Regions from separate parts of the Homo sapiens genome. Here regions 1 and 2 are each linked to region 3. The links are contacts of gene promoters, found by promoter capture Hi-C in human tissues and cell types (Jung and others, 2019). All regions are on one chromosome and are shown on one strand. Each heading gives the region's core, a stretch centred on a gene start or on the middle of the fragment in contact. The rest is flanking DNA. Distances are from core to core; before and after follow the strand shown. Region 1 overlaps RHBDL2 (rhomboid like 2). Region 2 has its middle 14 kb from the start of AKIRIN1. Region 3 holds the start of RHBDL2 (rhomboid like 2).

Region 1 (2,755 bases), core at 14-2,513, 45 kb after region 3:
GCTGGAGTGCAGTGGTGCGATCTCAGCTCCCTGCAACCTCTGCCTCCCAGGTTCAAGTGATCCTCGTGCCTCAGACTCCCCAGTAGTTGGAATTATAGGCATGTGCCACCACAGCCAGCTAATTTTATTTTTTTTCAATTTTTTTGAGACAGAGTCTCACTCTTGTTGCCCAGGCTGGGGTGCAGTGGCGCCATCTCAGCTCACTGCAACCTCCACCTCCAGGGTTCAAGCTATTCTCCTGCCTCAGCCTCCCAAATAGCTGGGATTACAGGTGTCTGCCACCATGCCCGGCTAATTTTTGTATTTTTAGTGGAGATGGGGTTTCGCCATGTTGCCCAGGCTGGTCTCGAACTCCTGAGCTCAGCTGATCCACCTGCCATGGCCTCCCAAAGTGCTGGGATTACAGGCGTGAGCCACCGTGCCCGGCCTACTGGACTACTTCTCACTGATCTTCAGTCATCCATATACCTGTTTGTATGCCATTGCTTTTCCAGTTCTCTAAGTCCTGAATACCTTCTTCTCTTTTGTTTTTCTTATCCAATCCTTTTGTGTGTGGGGGTGAGGGGAGAGGTCTTCCTCTGTCACCCAGACTGGAGCGCAGTGGCACGATGATAGCTCACTGCAGCCTCAAACTCCTGGGCTCAAGTGATCCTATTGGCTCAGCCTCTTGAGTAGCAAGGACCACAGGCGGGTACCACCATGCTTGGCTAATATTTTTCTTATATTTTTGGAGACGGATATCACTCTGTGGCCCGGGTTGGTCTCAGACTCCTGACTTTCTGGCCTCAAGCAATCTCCTGCCTGGGACTCCCAAAGCACTGAGATTATAGGAGTGAACCACAGTGTCTGGCCAATCTTAAAGATTCTTCAAAGTTTAGGCCGGGCGCAATGGCTCACGCCTGTAATCCCAGCACTTTGGGAGGCCGAGGTGGGCAGATCACGAGGTCAGGAGATCGAGACCATCCTGGCTAACATGGTGAAACCCCGTCTCTACTAAAAACACAAAAAATTAGCCAGGCGTGGTGGCGGGCGCCTGTAGTCCCAGCTGCTCGGGAGGCTGAGGCAGGAGAATAGCATGAACCTGGGAGGCAGAGCTTGCAGTGAGCTGAGATCACGCCACTGCACTCCAGCCTGGGCGACAGAGTGGGACTCCATCTCAAAAAAAAAAAAAAAGATTCTTCAAAGTTTAATGAAAATGCTATCTCCTCCTCCTCAGAGTAGCAAGGACTCCACCCTTCTGCTGAGAAAATCACTCCTTCCTAAGTGCTTCTACAATAAATTTATTTTTGTCATAGTAGTTGTTATATTCTGTACTTTATAATAGTTGTTTGCTCATCTCTTTGTAAAATTACTGAGGACAGACACTTTTTCTTGCACAAAATAGGTACTGTATTGTTTTGTATCATACACTAAGGAAATGAAAGAAGACCTTGAAAGGAATAGACCAAGTAATAGAACTAAGCAGTATAGAGAGAATATTTTAGTCTTTGCATAAGGTGGTTTGCAAAGCCTTGTTTTGGTCCAGTAAATCTAGGATTAGGTTAGCAATTAGGATTCATCTTGCTTGGGGAATCTGATTGGATCGTATGTTGAGAAGGATTCTGAGGGCACATTATGGCTCATTGAGAAAGATAGCTATTAGATAATAAAATGTTGGATTGTCTCAGGTATTTTGACTGAACATAGGATATTTTGCAATAATATTAGGTTGATGCAAAAATAATTGCAGTTTTTGCCCTTAAAAGTAATGGCAAAACCGCAATTACTTTTGCACCAACCTAATAGCTAACAAATATATAATACACATCAAGCAGTATTCTAAGCACAAAACACACATCAACTCATTATTTACCCTGACAATCCATTAAGGTAAGTTCTATTAATAGCCCCATTTTGCAGGTAGGGAAACTGAGACATAGAGAAGTCAACTAACTTCCTCAAGTCACACTGCTGGTAATTCTGGCTCCAGACGATTCTGCCATTGTCACTGCTATGTTGCTGTTCTAATGAACATTCCATGTTTTCAGAAACACTGTGGTAGTTAGCATATACAGCTATGCTTCTATGGTATGAAAGGGGCAAAATAGATTTGTTGCTTGCTAATGTGATAATAGACCAGACTTCCCAAATGTCTACCTTAGATTAGAAAGATTTATCTTTCCTGATCCGTATAGTCATGTCTGATCCTTTGTGTTTTATTTCTTTAGGGTCCCTTGCCAGCTCCATCTTTGACCCACTCAGATATCTTGTGGGAGCTTCAGGAGGAGTCTATGCTCTGATGGGAGGCTATTTTATGAATGTTCTGGTGGTAAGAACCATGGGGATGGAGTCCACGAGTCTCTTAAAAAAACAGAAAACAGTAACTCTTCTTTGTTTCAACGAACCTTCATTTATCAATATTTACTGAGCACTCAATTTTCTGAGAATTGTATGGCAATGCCATTTTGTTTCCTTTCTTTTCTTTCTTTTTTTTTGAGACAGAGTCTTGCACCATTGCCCAGGCTGGAATGCAGTGGTGTGATAATGGCTCACTGCACTTCTGCCTCCTGGGCTCAAGCAATCCTCCCACCTCAGCCTCCTAAATAGCTGGGACTACAGGTGTGGGCCACCATGCCTGACTAATGTTTTTATTGTTTGTAGAGCCAGGGTTTCGCCATGTTGCCCAGGCTGGTCTCGAACTCCTAGGCTCAAGCGATCTGCCCACGTTGGCCTCCCAAAGTGCTGGGATTACAGGCGTGAGCTGCCGCACCTAGCT
Region 2 (3,009 bases), core at 374-2,873, 35 kb before region 3:
CCAGCGTTTACAGGAAAAGTCTTCTGAAATCAGACGATGCCTTTCAAACTCTTATACCAACCTCTGGAGTTGGGCAACCTGGCTTCTCCCCTCTCTATGTCCCGTGACAGCCGTCTTGCTATTACTTGCCTTCGGGCCCTGTATTTTTAACCTCCTTGTCAAATTTGTTTCCTCTAGGATCGAGGCCATCAAGCTACAGATGGTCTTACAAATAGAACCCCAAATGAGCTCAACTAACAACTTCTATCAAGGACCGCTGGACCGATCCACTGGCCCTTTGGCCTAAAGCATTCCCCTCTGGAGGACACTACAACTGCAGGGCCCCTTCTTTGCCCCTATCCAGCAGGAAGTAGCTAGAACGGTCATCGCCCAATTCCCAACAGTAGTTGGGGTATCCTGTTTAAAGGGGGGATTGAGAGGTGAAGCCAGCTGGGCTTCTGGGTCGGGTGGGGACTTGGAGAACTTTTCTGTCTAGCTACAGGATTGTAAACACACCAGTCAGTGCTCTGTGTCTAGCTAAAGGTTTGTAAATGCACCAATCAGCACTATGTAAAAACGCACCTATCAGCACTCTGTGTCTAGCTAAAGATTTGTAAATGCACCAATCAGCACTCTCTAAAAATGGACCAATCAGCACGCCATAAAATGGACCAATTAGCACTCTGTAGAATGGACTGATCAGCAGGATGTGGGTGGGGCCAAATAAGGGACTAAAAGCTGCCACCCAAGATGGCAGCCGCAACCCACTCGGGTCCCCTTCCACACTGTGGAAGCTTTGTTCTTTCACTCTTCACAATAAATCTTGCTGCTCCTCACTCTTTGAGGAGGAGCACCACCTTTAAGAGCTGTAACACTCATTGCGAAGGTCTGCAGCTTCACTCCTGAAGTCAGTGAGACCACAAACCCACCGGGAGGAACAAACAACTGCGGACATGCCACCTTTAAGGGCTGTAACACTCACCGGGAGGGTCTGTGGCTTCACTCCTGAAGTCAGCAAGACCACAAACCCACCGGAAGGAACCAATTCCAGACACACCTGTCACTAAAAAAAAAAAAAAAAAAAAAAAAAAAAAAAATTCTCAATAATATAAAATACCCAGGGCCCGGTGTGGTGGGACTTCCTGTAGTCCCAGCTACTTAGGAAGCGGATGCAGGATTGTTTGAGCATAGAAGTTCAAGGCCAGCCTGGTAACACAGTGAGACTCTGTCTCTAAAAAAAGATTTTTAAATTTTTTATCCTAAAAAATTTTTCATAGGCCAGGCATGGTGGCTCATGCCTGTAATCCCAGCACTTTGGGAGACTGAGGTGGGTGGATCACGAGGTCAAGAGACCAAGACCATCCTGGCCAACATGGTGAAACCCTGTCTCTACTAAAAATACAAAAATTAGCTGGGCGTGGTGGCACGTGCTGGTAGTCCCAGCTACTCGGGAGGCTGAGGCAGGAGAATCACTTGAACCCAAGAGGCGGAGGTTGCAGTGAGCTGAGATCGTGCTACTGCACTCCAGCCTAGAGCGAGACTCCGTCTCAAAAAAAAAATTTTTTTTTGTAGAGACGGCCTCCCTCTCTCACCCAGCCTGGAGTGCTGTGGTGCAATCTTGACTCCCTGAAGCCTTGAACTGCGGAGCTCAAGTTTTCCTCCCACCTCAGCCTCCTGAGTAGCTGAGACTACAGGCAAATGTCACCATGACTGGCTAATTAAAACAACTTTTTTTTTTGCTCATGCCTGTAATCCCAACACTTTGGGAGGCCGAGGTGGCTGAATCACTTGAGCCCGGGAGCCTGGGCAACATGGTGAAACTTTATCTCTACAAAAAATACAAAAATAAGCCAGGCGTAGTGGCATGAGCCTATAGTGCTAGCTACTTGGGAGGCTGAGGTGGGAGGATCACTTGAGACCAGGAGGCAGGTTGCAGTAAGCTGAGATCTCGCCACTGCACTCCAGTCTGGCTGACAGAGCCAAAATAAATAAATAAAAACAAAACAAAAAAATAAGACAAAACTGTAGAGACAGGATCTGGCTATGTTGCCCAGGCTGGTCTCCAACTCCTGGCCTCAAGCAATCCTCCTGCCTCAGCAGCCCCCAAAGTGCTGGGATTACAAGTGTTAGCCACCATGCCTGGTAAAAAGTTTTTTCAAATACCTATAAATAAGCTGAACAAAGTCACAGGATGTATATGAAGAATATAATAAAAATGTTACTGAACAACATAAAGTTCAAAGCTAGACAAGTAGAAAGTTATTTGTTCTTGGATAAGAAAACTTAACGTTGTAACAACAAAAATATTTAAAAATACTTATATTTAATGCAATTCCAATTAGAATTCTGGCAGGCAGGTTTTTTGTTTGTTTGTTTGAGACGGAGTCTCGGTTTGTCACCTAGGCTGGAGTGCAGTGGTGCAATCTCGGCTCACTGCAACCTCTGCCTCTGTTCAAGCAATTCTCCTGCCTCAGCCTCCCAAGTAGCTGGGATTACAGGCATCCACCACCATGCCCAGCTAATTTTTGTATTTTTAGTAGAGATGGGGTTTCTCCATGTTGGCTAGGCTGGTCTCGAACTCCTGACCTTGAACTCCTGATCTCAAGTGATCCACCTGCCTCGGCTTACCAAAGTGCTGGGATTACAAGCGTGAGCCACCGCACCTGGCCAGGCAGGCAGTTTTTAAGAAATCATTAAAATAACCTTAAATCCATATGGAAGAATTTATACCCTAGAATAAACTAGGAAAGTATGAACATGGAGTACAGTGAAGGGGAACTACTTGCTTAACCAGATACCAGAACATCCACAAACCTACTTTAATCAAATTAGTATAATATTGGCATAGGAATAGAATACTGGAAAAGAATAGAAAATCTAGAGGCTGGGCACAGTGGCTCACGCCCGTAATCCCAGCACTTTGGGAGGCCAAGGCGGGTGGATCACTTGAGGTCAGGAGTTTGAGACCAGCCTGGCCAACAGGGTGAAACCCTGTCTCTACCAAAAAATACAAAAATTAGCCGGGCGTGG
Region 3 (2,804 bases), core at 27-2,526:
TAGAGTGCAGTGGCGCAATCTCGGCTCACTGCAACCTCTGCCTCCCAGAGAGACCCTGTATTGCAACAAACAAACGAACAAACAAACAAACAATCTTTCTATGACTCCCCAGAACCTATAGGACACAGTCCAAACTGTTTACCAAGGCACACAAGGCCCTTCATGATCTGACACTCCCTGCTCACAATTCTGAACTTTGAGTAGTTCCTGCTGAATTCCGTCCCTTCCCATGGCCTTTTCTGTCAGCCTGTGCTCCCCTTCTGTGTGCTCCCCGCTTACAATTCTGGAAAACCCCTGTTCACCTTTCAAAACCCATCTTGTATGTCATGTCATCTAGGAGCTTTTCCAGAACACTTCCACACAGGGGGATTCCTCTCTGGTCCCTTCTGCCTGAATTTTTTTTTTTTTTTTTTTTTGAGACCGAGTTTCGCTGTTGTTGCCCAGGCTGGAGTGCAATGGCGTGATCTTGGCTCACTGCAACCTCCGCCTCCCGGGTTCAAGCGATTCTCCTGCCTCAGCCTCCCGAGTGGCTGGGATTACAGGCATGCACCACCATGCCCAGCTAATTTTGTATTTTTAGTAGAGATGAGGTTTCTCCATGTTGATCAGGCTGGTCTCGAACTCCCGACTTCAGGTGATCCACCCACCTCAACCTCCCAAAGTGCTGGGATTACAGGCGTGAGACACCATGCCTGGCCACCTTCTGCCTGAATCTTGAGCAGCGTCTACTTAGAGCTTCATTCTTTGTCTTCCTAGTAGAGTAGGAGGTCAGGGACCCCGTTAATCTACCTCTTCATCCTCAGGGCCTCACACAAGGCCAGTTATTCTCAAAATGCTTTGAATGAATAATCAGAGCTGGCAAAGCTATTTCACCAGGGGCCATGGTGTCACCAATTCTTCTGTGGACTAAATCTCTGCTGAGGATCGTCAAGTCACCCACCCTGGTGCCCAGTACAGGCCTGGCTTCAGACTGGAGCATAACCAAATGCAGAGTGATAGAGACCACCCGGTTGAGGCGTCAGAGAGCTGAGAGTGGAGAGCAGGGGACCCAGGCATGAAGCAGGAGGGCAGGACTTGGAGGAGGAATGGAGCTCAGTGTCCTGGAGAAAGAGCAGAGGCTGCCACCGGCTCCCTGGCTAAGACCCAAGCAGGCGAAGAGGAGGACTCATTCATCCAGGGCCAGCCCAGGAGCAAGACTGCCAAGCAGGCCGGCCCAGCCCAGCTGGGAGGGGATTTCCTCAGCCTCCCTCCTCCTGGGCTGGGCAGCTTTGGAACCTGTCTGGAGGATTTTTGTTTGGGGAGGGACGGAGGAGCGCCTGGCAGAGCGGGATCTTCAGGGCAGCGGGCAACCCCTTGGCCCAGGAAGCCTGGAACGCAAGGACCGGAGGGCGTGGGCTGGGACGCCCCTACCTTGGTCTTTCAGGGTAAGATGTGGGAGCTGGGAGGGAGTGGAGGGAGTCCTATGTCAGGACAAGGGGGCGGCAGCAGGAAGTGCAGGGCCGAGGGGTGCTGTGCAGGAAGGAGGAGGGACATGTGGGGTGCTTCGCTGGTAACCCCCCTTCTGGAGTGACCTCCTGGTGTGGCCGCTTTGGATCCTGCTACTTTCATTTTAAAAGTTGGCAGCATGTTGGGCCAGGAGTCAGGGGCTATCTTCCCGAGGGAAATGGCAGGGAAGGGCTGAGGATGAGGACAGAGTAATTCCATTCCTCTTCCCTGCCCTTCACACTGGCTTTCCCTCCAGCCATCACGTTCTCCCCAGCACCCCCTACCCTCCTAAGTTTTTCTAACTCCAACTAAGCCAGTTCCTAGCCCTTTGCTGACCTGGACACTGGAGACCACAGCCAGGGAGACAGTCTCCACTTCTACCCGCAAGGCGGCTCCTCCAGAGTTATTTGTTTCCTTCTTCCTGGTGTGGGTATCAGAGAGATTTCACTCAATCTTTCATTTATTCATTAGTGTTCATTTGTTTATTCATCACTGTTTGAGCATATACCTGGATTCTCTGGAGGGAGGGCTGCGCAATTTCTGCTCCTCTTGGGAATAAGAAAACTGAAACTTATTGCTCAAACATTTGATGGTCATCTACAAGCTGGTGGGCAGCATGGCAGAGCAGAAAATTATTTTGGAGTCACAAAGACACTTGGCTTTTTATCCCATATCTCCTGTTTACCTCCTGAGCCTCAGTTTCCTCAGCTATAATTTTTTTTTAAAGAGACAGGGTCTTGCTACCTTGCCCAGGCTGCAGTGCAGTGGCTGATCATAGCTTACTACAACTTCAAACTCCTGTGCTCAAGCAGTCTTCTTGCCTCAGCTTCCTGAGTTAACTGAGGCACGGCGGCCAGCTCAAAATGATATTTTTATGAAGATGACAGGGAACAATGCATGTTGAATACCAAGCTGGGTGCCAGGCTCATTGTGGAGCCTTCCTAAACACCTGTGCTTTTCCCTTCCTCTTTGACTGCCTTCTTGCCATGCCTCTCCCTAACCAGCAACTCCCTCACCTTAGGCTTGTAAAGATATGCTAGACAACCCCTGGCCTTGAAAGCACGTAGGCAGCGTGTAAACAGAACTGGCCAGTGACGGGTGGAGTGGTGAAGGGAGAGGGAAGGTTGGGTTCCATGGCTCGCTCCCAGTGATTTGGGAGGCCGAGGCGGGAGGATTCCTTGAGTCCAGGAGTTCGAGACCAGCCTGGGCAATAAAGTGAGGCCTTGTCTTTAAAAAATAAAATAAAAAAGAAGGGAGAGCCACATAGGCATGGGATTAGGGAAGGTGTCAGGTGCTGGTTTGTGGTAAAAATACTGGAC

The links. Contacts are between HindIII fragments. The study calls those that stand out against the background at their distance.
Region 1: a fragment that was not itself captured here is called in contact with the fragment with the promoter of RHBDL2 in region 3 in 2 of the 25 tissues and cell types used here (neural progenitor cells and spleen).
Region 2: a contact is called between a fragment that was not itself captured here and the fragment with the promoter of RHBDL2 in region 3, in 1 of the 25 tissues and cell types used here (aorta).

The regions. Positions count from the first base shown.
Region 1 is chr1:38,895,522-38,898,276 of GRCh38, reverse strand. It overlaps RHBDL2 (rhomboid like 2), which reads left to right. Exons shown (of 8, transcript NM_017821.5): 5 at 2,208-2,308. Among named protein-coding and RNA genes, the nearest start is that of GJA9-MYCBP, 15 kb to the right of the region's middle. The HindIII fragment of the contact is 8,075 bases long and covers 1-2,755 here.
Region 2 is chr1:38,975,714-38,978,722 of GRCh38, reverse strand. No RefSeq gene overlaps it. Among named protein-coding and RNA genes, the nearest start is that of AKIRIN1, 14 kb to the left of the region's middle. The HindIII fragment of the contact is 9,927 bases long and covers 1-3,009 here.
Region 3 is chr1:38,940,302-38,943,105 of GRCh38, reverse strand. It overlaps RHBDL2 (rhomboid like 2), which reads left to right and starts at 1,276. Exons shown (of 8, transcript NM_017821.5): 1 at 1,276-1,424. The HindIII fragment of the contact is 22,458 bases long and covers 1-2,804 here.